Linked DNA regions of Homo sapiens: region 1 is linked to region 2. The links are contacts of gene promoters, found by promoter capture Hi-C in blood cells and fetal thymus (Javierre and others, 2016). All regions are on one chromosome and are shown on one strand. Each heading gives the region's core, a stretch centred on a gene start or on the middle of the fragment in contact. The rest is flanking DNA. Distances are from core to core; before and after follow the strand shown. Region 1 holds the start of RNF25 (ring finger protein 25). Region 2 holds the start of RPL37A (ribosomal protein L37a).

Evidence for each region. The method cuts DNA at HindIII sites, captures the fragments that hold promoters and counts their contacts. A CHiCAGO score of 5 or more calls a contact.
Region 1: a fragment that was not itself captured here is called in contact with the fragment with the promoter of RPL37A in region 2 in 1 of 17 cell types (total B cells); the score reaches 5.3 in total B cells.

Annotation. Positions count from the first base shown.
Region 1 is chr2:218,669,117-218,673,361 of GRCh38, forward strand. RNF25 (ring finger protein 25) reads right to left here and starts at 2,886. Exons shown (of 10, transcript NM_022453.3): 1 at 2,814-2,886. The coding sequence starts at 2,854. STK36 (serine/threonine kinase 36) reads left to right here and starts at 2,970. Exons shown (of 27, transcript NM_015690.5): 1 at 2,970-3,099; 2 at 3,625-3,797. The coding sequence starts at 3,714. RefSeq lists an enhancer at 2,791-2,890. The HindIII fragment of the contact is 1,652 bases long and covers 686-2,337 here.
Region 2 is chr2:216,496,697-216,500,655 of GRCh38, forward strand. It overlaps RPL37A (ribosomal protein L37a), which reads left to right and starts at 2,148. Exons shown (of 4, transcript NM_000998.5): 1 at 2,148-2,181; 2 at 2,574-2,702; 3 at 3,253-3,335. The coding sequence starts at 2,179. It overlaps RPL37A-DT (RPL37A divergent transcript), which reads right to left and starts at 2,056. Exons shown (of 4, transcript NR_183317.1): 1 at 1,911-2,056. RefSeq lists enhancers at 1,565-1,654, 1,835-2,224. The HindIII fragment of the contact is 3,327 bases long and covers 972-3,959 here.

The sequences.
Region 1 (4,245 bases), core at 262-2,761, 2.2 Mb after region 2:
CTACTGTCTACATACAGTTTTAACACCAGTCACCCTAAGCCTTCTTAAAGGAGATAGCAACCTCAACACAACATATTTAGGGTGGTATAAAGGCTGTGTTGTAATGGAAGAGCCAGCAGCCTCGGAGTTAGTTAACAGGTACCAATCACTTACAAGCTATGCAATCTGGGACGTGACCTCTCTGTAAGCTTAAGTTATCCTGTCTGTCACATATAGATAATAACACCTACTCTCTAGGGTTATTGTGAGGATAAAAGGTGATTTGTTTACATAAAGTACCTAATAGTATCTGGGCTATCGTAGCTAGTCTACGTCCTCTTTTTTTCCTGTCTGTATATAACCTTCTCCCTTAGAAGGAAAGAGGGAAGGAAGGAGGTAATAGAGTACTCTGGATGTATTTATGACCTGGCTGTCTGGTTGATCTAGATCAGCCTGTTGAGGTTAGGATCCATGGTTCTGATGTAAATCAAGGGACACACATACTTAAGCATAGAAACAGCAGTTGTAATGAAATTGAAGCTGAGTGATCAGTTTGTGTCTACAGCTCTACCAAGTGATACATGGAAAAATGCACACTTTGCTTTCTCACACTGCTCCCTCTTCATTCTAAGAGTAAGGCTGCCCCAGCACGACCTATGTCAGTGTTGTTAAGTCTTAGGCAGAAACTTCAAAATATAAAATATAAAGCTTCACACCTCACAGATAACAGTGTAGTTCTGGCTGACATGGGAGTGGGAGTCTCACAGTACTACAGGCTGCTGCACTCATTGTTGCTGTCTCCATGGCTCAAGGTGTCTCCCCTGAATCTTAAAAGTTCCCCTGAACAGGTAAACTGTAAGTTATCCCAGCGCTTTGGGAGGCTGAGGTGGGAGGATCACTTGAGGCCAGGAGTTCGAGACCAGCCTGGGCAACAAAGCGAGACACTATCTCTACAAAAAATAAAAAATTAACTGGACACGGTGGTCCCAGCTACTTGGGAGACTGAGGCAGAAGAATCACGGGAGCCCAGGAGGTCGAGGCTGTAGTGAGCCATGATCTTGCCACTGTACTCCAGCCTGGGTGACAAAGTAAGACTCTGTCTCTTAAAAAAAAAAAAAAAAAAGAAGTTTCCCTGAACACTTTGAAAACCAGTAGTCTAGATACTCTTAATAACGGCCAGTACTAGCTGGGCTCCCTGAACCAATGTAACATTGAGGTGTAGCCTCAGTCAAGTGGCCCTTCAATACTTCGCCCACCCTAGTTATATGGGTCCTGGATGGGATGGTGGTAAGGTGGTGACAACAAAATGGGGGAGGGGGGCCGGGCGCGGTGGCTCAGGCCTGTAATCCCAGCACTTTGGGAGGCTGAGGCGGGTGGATCATGAAGTCAGGAGATAGAGACCATCCTGGCTAACAGGGTGAAACCCCGTCTCTACTAAAAATCACAAAAAATTAGCTGGGTGTGGTGGCGGGCGCCTGTAGTCCCAGCTACTCGGGAGGCTGAGGCAGGAGAATGGCATGAACCCGGGAGGCGGAGCTTGCAGTGAACCGAGATTGCGCCACTGCACTCCAGCCTGGGCGACAGAGCAAGACTCCGTCTCAAAAAAAAAAAAAAAAAAAAAAAAAATTGGGGGAGTGGGGACTGAAGAATGTCCTAGTACAAAGAATCTAAGGTGTGGAGTCAGACAGATATGGATTTCTATTCATAATTTTCTATCTTTTGGCAAATCACTTTACTTCTTTGGGACTCATCTAGTCTTCCCAGGTGCCTGCACCTCAGTTATTAATGAAAAGGAGGCCGGGTGTGGTGGCTCACGCCTGTAATTCCAGCACCTTGGGAGGCTGAGGTGGGAGGATCACTTGAACCCAGGGGTTCAAGACCAGTCTGGCCAACATGGCAAAACTCCGTCTCTACAAAAAATACAAAAATTAGCCAGGCATGGTGGCACACACCTGTAGTCTCAGCTACTCGGAAGGCTGAGGCAGAAGGATCACCTGAGCCTGGGGAGGTCGAGGCTGCAGTGAGCCGTAATCGCACCACCGCACTCCAGCGTGGGCGAGAGTGAGACTCTGTCTCAAAAAACAAAACAAAACAAAACAAAAAACAGACTTAAGTATATTACAAATCCGTCGTGATCCTCTCAACTATTCTGAGGTAAATGCCACACCCACTTTTTTTTTTTACAGCTGAGGACACTGACTCACAGAAGCTAGATGGCCTGTTCAGCATCACACAGCTAATAAAATGTGGAGTTAACCCACATTGATCCTACTTCCAAATCCCAGAGTCCTTCCATGTTCTAGTCTTTGGTTAAGAATGCTTGAGAGAAGGACTAGAGGGACTTTATATGAAGTGTAAAGCTTTATTCATACAATAGTCCTCACTAGTGCTGTGTGAGAGAGAGAAGGCTGAGGAAAGCGTCGGCGGAAAAAGGCTGATCCAAGGGGAAAGGGGGCCGGAACTGGAGGGCACTGGTTCTGAGAGGAGAAAGGGAGATGGGGAGGTCTGATGGGCAGGCATCCCCCAAAGCCCCTGAGAAAATTCATTTGAGGAGGAGAGAAAGGGATGGCGTGAAGCTGGAGGAAAAGGGATCGAACCGGATGCGGCGAGGCCTGAACTGGCCTGGCGGGCGCCGACCCGTTCTCCTCTCACTCAGATCAGCGCCCCTCCACCCTCCCGTTCCCCAGTCCAGCTTTCCCAGAGATGTCAGCATCTCTGCCATCCCTCATCCCTCGCTCCACCCCACACGCCCGCCGTACGGACCGTCTGCGACAGCTGCTAGGCCTCTGGACTAGATCCAGGCTGTCAGCCAAAGCCCATGCCCCCAAAGTTACCAGTCCTCCTCCCCTGCAGCTGCAGACGCAGACGCCGCCATATCTTCACCGGCCCGCAGCCGGAACCGGAAATGCCCTTAGGGAAGTCGGAGGCGGAAAACTAAGAGGGGTGGGCAGCTAGCGTCGTTTCTAGGCAACCGCAGACTCCGGGTCCTTAGCCGGGCCTGATGGCCCTGAGGCAGTTCGGATGTGTCCCAGGAAGTGCCCATGTGTGGTCCGCCGTCCATTCCACACCTCTGAGCGCCTTTGTCCTCTGAACTTCTCACCAGTTCTAGCGAGTAAAATTGTAAGAAAGGGAGCCGAAAGAGACCGGAGGGAGAGGCGGGTGGAGAAGAATTATAAGTCAGGCAACGTATGCAGGCAGCCAGAAGAGATGGGGCTAAACGCCAGGGAATCCGTCCCTTGGCCTGAGGAGCTTGGAGCTCCTAGGCTGGGGGTGAGAGAGGGGCTCTGGCCTGCGAAGCGCACGGGCCAGGGGGTCTGAGAGCGGGTGCTGAGGAGTCTGGGAGTGGCAGGAACTTGGGGGAGACTCAAAGGAGCAGGGTTGGTTGGGCGAGGCTAGGTTGAAAGAGTAGGGTCGAGTGAGCCAGGCTGGGTGAGGGAGAAGGGGAACCAGGTGTTAGTTGGGCATGGGGCCGGGTTGGGGACAGGAGGATGAAAGTGGGGAGGAACTACAAAGAGAAGCTCTGTTTGTTCCAAGAGCGCATCATCTTTGCATGCATTCCACCCTCCCATGTTTTTTGAGGCTTTATTGTGAAAAAGAGGAAAAGGCAAGGTGGCTAACATTTTTCCTTTCCCGTGCCCCAACTAGGCGTCCCAGATGTTGTGGAACTGTCCCTGGATCTATAGCTCTTCACCGTCTCTACTTTCTTCCTTCTAAGAGATCCTGAAACCTCTGTCATGGAAAAGTACCACGTGTTGGAGATGATTGGAGAAGGCTCTTTTGGGAGGGTGTACAAGGGTCGAAGAAAATACAGTGCTCAGGTGTTGCACAAAGAGGGATACCTTTTGGGTGGGATTTGGTACCCCCAACTCCAGTGGAAAATGGATCTAGAAGGAATGTATTTATACCAGTTTGTATTCCTAAGGTACTGACTCCCTCATACTTCTTATGGAGTATAAGCTTTGAAGTTGGATTATTTGGGTGCAAATTCCATCTCCACCGCTTTCTAGCCCTAGAATTATGGACAAATTACTTAACTTCCCTATGTCTCAATTTCCTTATCTCTAGAATGGGGATAAGAACAGCAACTGATTGATGGAGTTTGAGGATTAAATATGTTTTCACATTAAATCACTTAGTACAGTGCCTGGCTGTTAGTAAACAACAAATATTATTAGTCTCTAGCACACCATGTAATAAGAGGTAAACCACTTGAACTCTATTATTTCCTCTTCATTTTTTTTTTCCTTTCCTTTCTCCTAAATCTCA
Region 2 (3,959 bases), core at 898-3,397:
AATTCAACTATGTTTTCTGATGTGCTTTTTCAGTGCACTAAATATTATGATTTGGCGTAGTACAAGCTAGCAATTAGGAGAACTAACTTTGGGATCAGACAGACCAGATTTGAGTTCTAATTGCTGTGTGACATTGAGCAAGTTTCTTAACTTCCCTGAGATGAGTTTCTTTTTTCTTTCTTTTTTTGTTTTTGTTTTGAGAAAGGATCTCACTCTGTTGTCCAGGTTGGAGTGAAATGGTGTGATCATAGCTCACTGTAACCTCTGAACTCCTGGGCTCAAGCAATCCTCACGTTTCAGCCTTTTGAGCAGCTAGAACCACAGATGTGTGTCACCATACCTGGCCTATTATTTTTTTGTGTGTGTGGAGATGGGGTCTCGCTATATTGTCCAGGCTGCCTAGAACTCCTGGTCTCAAAGAATCTTTTCCAAGAGAGACTCTGTCTCAAAAAAAAAAAAAAAAAAAAAAAAAAAAGAAAAAGAAAAAAGAAAGAAAAGTATATAATAACTTGTCAGAGGTCCCACAGCTGGTAAATAGCAGAGTTCTGTTTTGAACCCATACTGAATCCAGAGCCTCTAAGTTCCTAATCATTACATGAGACTTCCTCTCTTTTTCTTAGTAATGAAGATAATAATCATTCCTATCATAAAGGATAATGGAAAATTAAATGAGAACATCCACATAAAATACTCAGTGCCTACCATGTGTTACCCTCCAACAATTGTAACCATATGAAGTACATAGCTGTTTGCAAGTTGCTTTGATTTGATTTGATTCATATATATTTTTTGAGACAGAGTCTCACTCTGTTGTCCAGGCTGGACTGCAGTGGCGTGATGACAGCTTACTGCAGCCTCAACCTCCCAGGCTCAAATGATCTTCCCACCTCAGCCCAGGTATGCAAGTTGACTTTAATACAATTGTGAGGAAAAGTGAACAGGTGCAAAATTATTTGAGACAGTTAATATTAAGCTTTGGGAACGGAAGCTACTTGTTACCGGACTTCTGATTGGAATCAGGGCCACACAATGCCTTTCAGCTCCCATGGTCTTTCTTGGCCCTCTAATCATGGATTCTCTCTTACACTCTTATTCCAGTAGTTTTCTGAGCTTCTTATTCTCTGGATTAGCCATCCCCTGAAAAAAGGCAACCAAACTTCCTAGTGTGTGTGTTCTACGTGAAGAAAGAAGATCATGTGTCTAGTTCCAGAACACACCCTCCCCACCCCCGGCCTCAACCAGAAATCCAATTCTTCCCTGCTGACCCCTTTGAGAGACCTGGAGGGACAGAGAATTGACGGTGGGTAAAGGGTAAGATGTTGGAGTTTAAGGGTTCAGGCCTGGACCAGGAAGCTGTCTTAACAGCCTAGTGTGGGGCCATGGAAGTGAGTTCTGAAATGAAGTGGAAGGCAGGCCATCCGCACTGAGATGCAGCAGCTGGAACACAAAACTCCAAGGTGACTGTTAACTTTTCCCCAGCCTTCCAATCTCAGACTTTCCTCAGGAAACACCAGGCTCTTCTGAATTAGTCGCGAGCAGAACCATCGTCCTTTCCTTCAGAACTCTGACCAGTTTGAAACTGTCTAACTTCTTAATGTGGCTATATGATCGTTTGCAGCTGGCCTGCAACTTGTTCTGGGAATGGAACCTTGGATTTTAGTCACCACTGTCGCTAGCATCCTGCACAGTCAGCCACTTTTAGAGAGCATAATGCAGAGGGGGAAATAAATGAGATTTGGAATAGAGACGGGGTTTCACCCTGCTGGCCAGGCTGGTCTCGAACTCCTGACCCACCCCGCCTCCCAAAGTGTTAGAATCACAAGCGTGAGCCACCGCGCCCGGCCCCACAAATGTAAGATTTATGCACTTCTCCAAGCCAAGTGCTGTGCATCGAATGGAGGAACTCGTACCTTTGCAGGATTTTGTGATATATGTGAAATAATCCGGACATGCTTCTGCTATGGTTGTTTGTCGCCATAGTTTGCGAATCTGGGTAAACCTGGATGAGAGAGACGCCTTACAATTGCAAACATTTCTCAGGAGGCCGCCTGAAAACGCCCAAACCATAGAGCTCAGTTCCTAGCTAGGCCTCTACCAGCCACTTCCGCTCGTCCGCCTAATACCGCGCCTGCGCACCGCGTCTCTTCCTTTCTGGGCTCGGACCTAGGTCGCGGCGACATGGTGAGTGTGGGTCTCTGTGCGGCCTAGAACTCTATCTGCCTGCATCTGTCCTTGTTTTCTTCTCCCGCACCCATCTCCTCTCCTGCCTTACCCCGTGTTCTCTCCTGTCTCCATGCCTTTGCAGGAGACACCATTGTCGGAAGCTCCCCAAGGCGGAGGGGCGGGGGCGCCTTGGCTGGGCCTGGCGCGCTCCAGCCGGGTTAACGCCGGGCCTTCGGAGCGCGCGGCCAGCCCTGGGCACTGGTTTCGTTGGGTTGAATTTAGGGAAAACTAGGTCATATGTAATTCACATGTCGGTCACACGTCAGTGAGGTGGAGGAACGGTGTGTGGAGGCTCCAGGGCCTGCCTGGGTTCCAGGTCTATCACTGGTTTCTCCCTTCACTCTAAACAGGCCAAACGTACCAAGAAAGTCGGGATCGTCGGTAAATACGGGACCCGCTATGGGGCCTCCCTCCGGAAAATGGTGAAGAAAATTGAAATCAGCCAGCACGCCAAGTACACTTGCTCTTTCTGTGGCAAAGTAAGTAAGGCAAAGTCTCTGGTGAGAGGAGAGGGAGGGCAGGTTTCTTACCCAAGTGAGGCCTGACTTCAAGGTATTTTATAAGCCGTGTGCTGGTGGGCAGTTGGAATTACTCATACCGTTGATTATGAGTTTTAAGATAAAAGTGTTGATGGTAACTTCAGATTTTGTGAGACGTTTTTCATTTAAAGAAAACCGCTTAAACGTTAATGGGTAAAATAATCATTTGACAGAGTGCCCCCAGCCTAAGCCAAACCTGCTTTGTGGGAAATGATTCCATCAGTTTTGTCTACTGATGTTTCTGCACCAACTCCCAAGATGTCTGTGCATCTAATACCATTCTACTTGTTCTGCGAGGGATTTTTGTTTGATAAAGGTTTGAACGTTTATGTGCAAAATACTGCATTACAGCAATCCCTGTTTTGTTTTTGAGGGAGAAAGGGAGGCTTTCACATCCCTGACAATAAGGTGAATCCAAATTTAGACTTCTGGATGCTTGTAAGAGAAAATACTTACTTGGTTCATAGTGAAAATTGGTTCTCTTTTATAGACCAAGATGAAGAGACGAGCTGTGGGGATCTGGCACTGTGGTTCCTGCATGAAGACAGTGGCTGGCGGTGCCTGGACGTACAAGTGAGTCTAGTTCCTTGTGGTATTTGGAAGTGTGTGGACCACATAGGCCCAAATTCCAGGTTGCTGCTGGATGGGCTAGTTTTAACACTTTCTCAGGACTGAGAGAATAAGGATGCCTTTGTATTTTCAGGATTCTTCCGTGGTGGTTTATTTTCAGTTATTGAAAGAGTAAACACAAAACTACCAAAATAGAAGTCGGAAATCTAATTCACAGACTACTTTAGAATTTGATGGTCACTGGGCACATTGTTGTGAACATTGTCATGATACTGTGCAGGTCCATTAGTGGGGCTGAATCTACTGAACGTTGATTTGCACTGCAAGTTTTGATAAAAATAGGTGAAGGGGTCAGTTAGTTCAAAACTGTATTTGGAACTTGAGGCCATCAGGACCACCACAGTTTCGTCTTTCTGAACAGTATTAGACTGCTGCAGGTTTGTGAATCTGCAACTCAGTATCACCTGACAGGGCGATACTACAAACACTATACTACAAACTAGCATCTAGACCTGTGTTGTCCAATACACTAAGCACATATATGGCTAGTGTAATTAAAGAATTGGATTTTAAAGTTTCAGTCAATTTAAACTTAAACCGAAGCAGTGGAAAATGTTGAAATATATA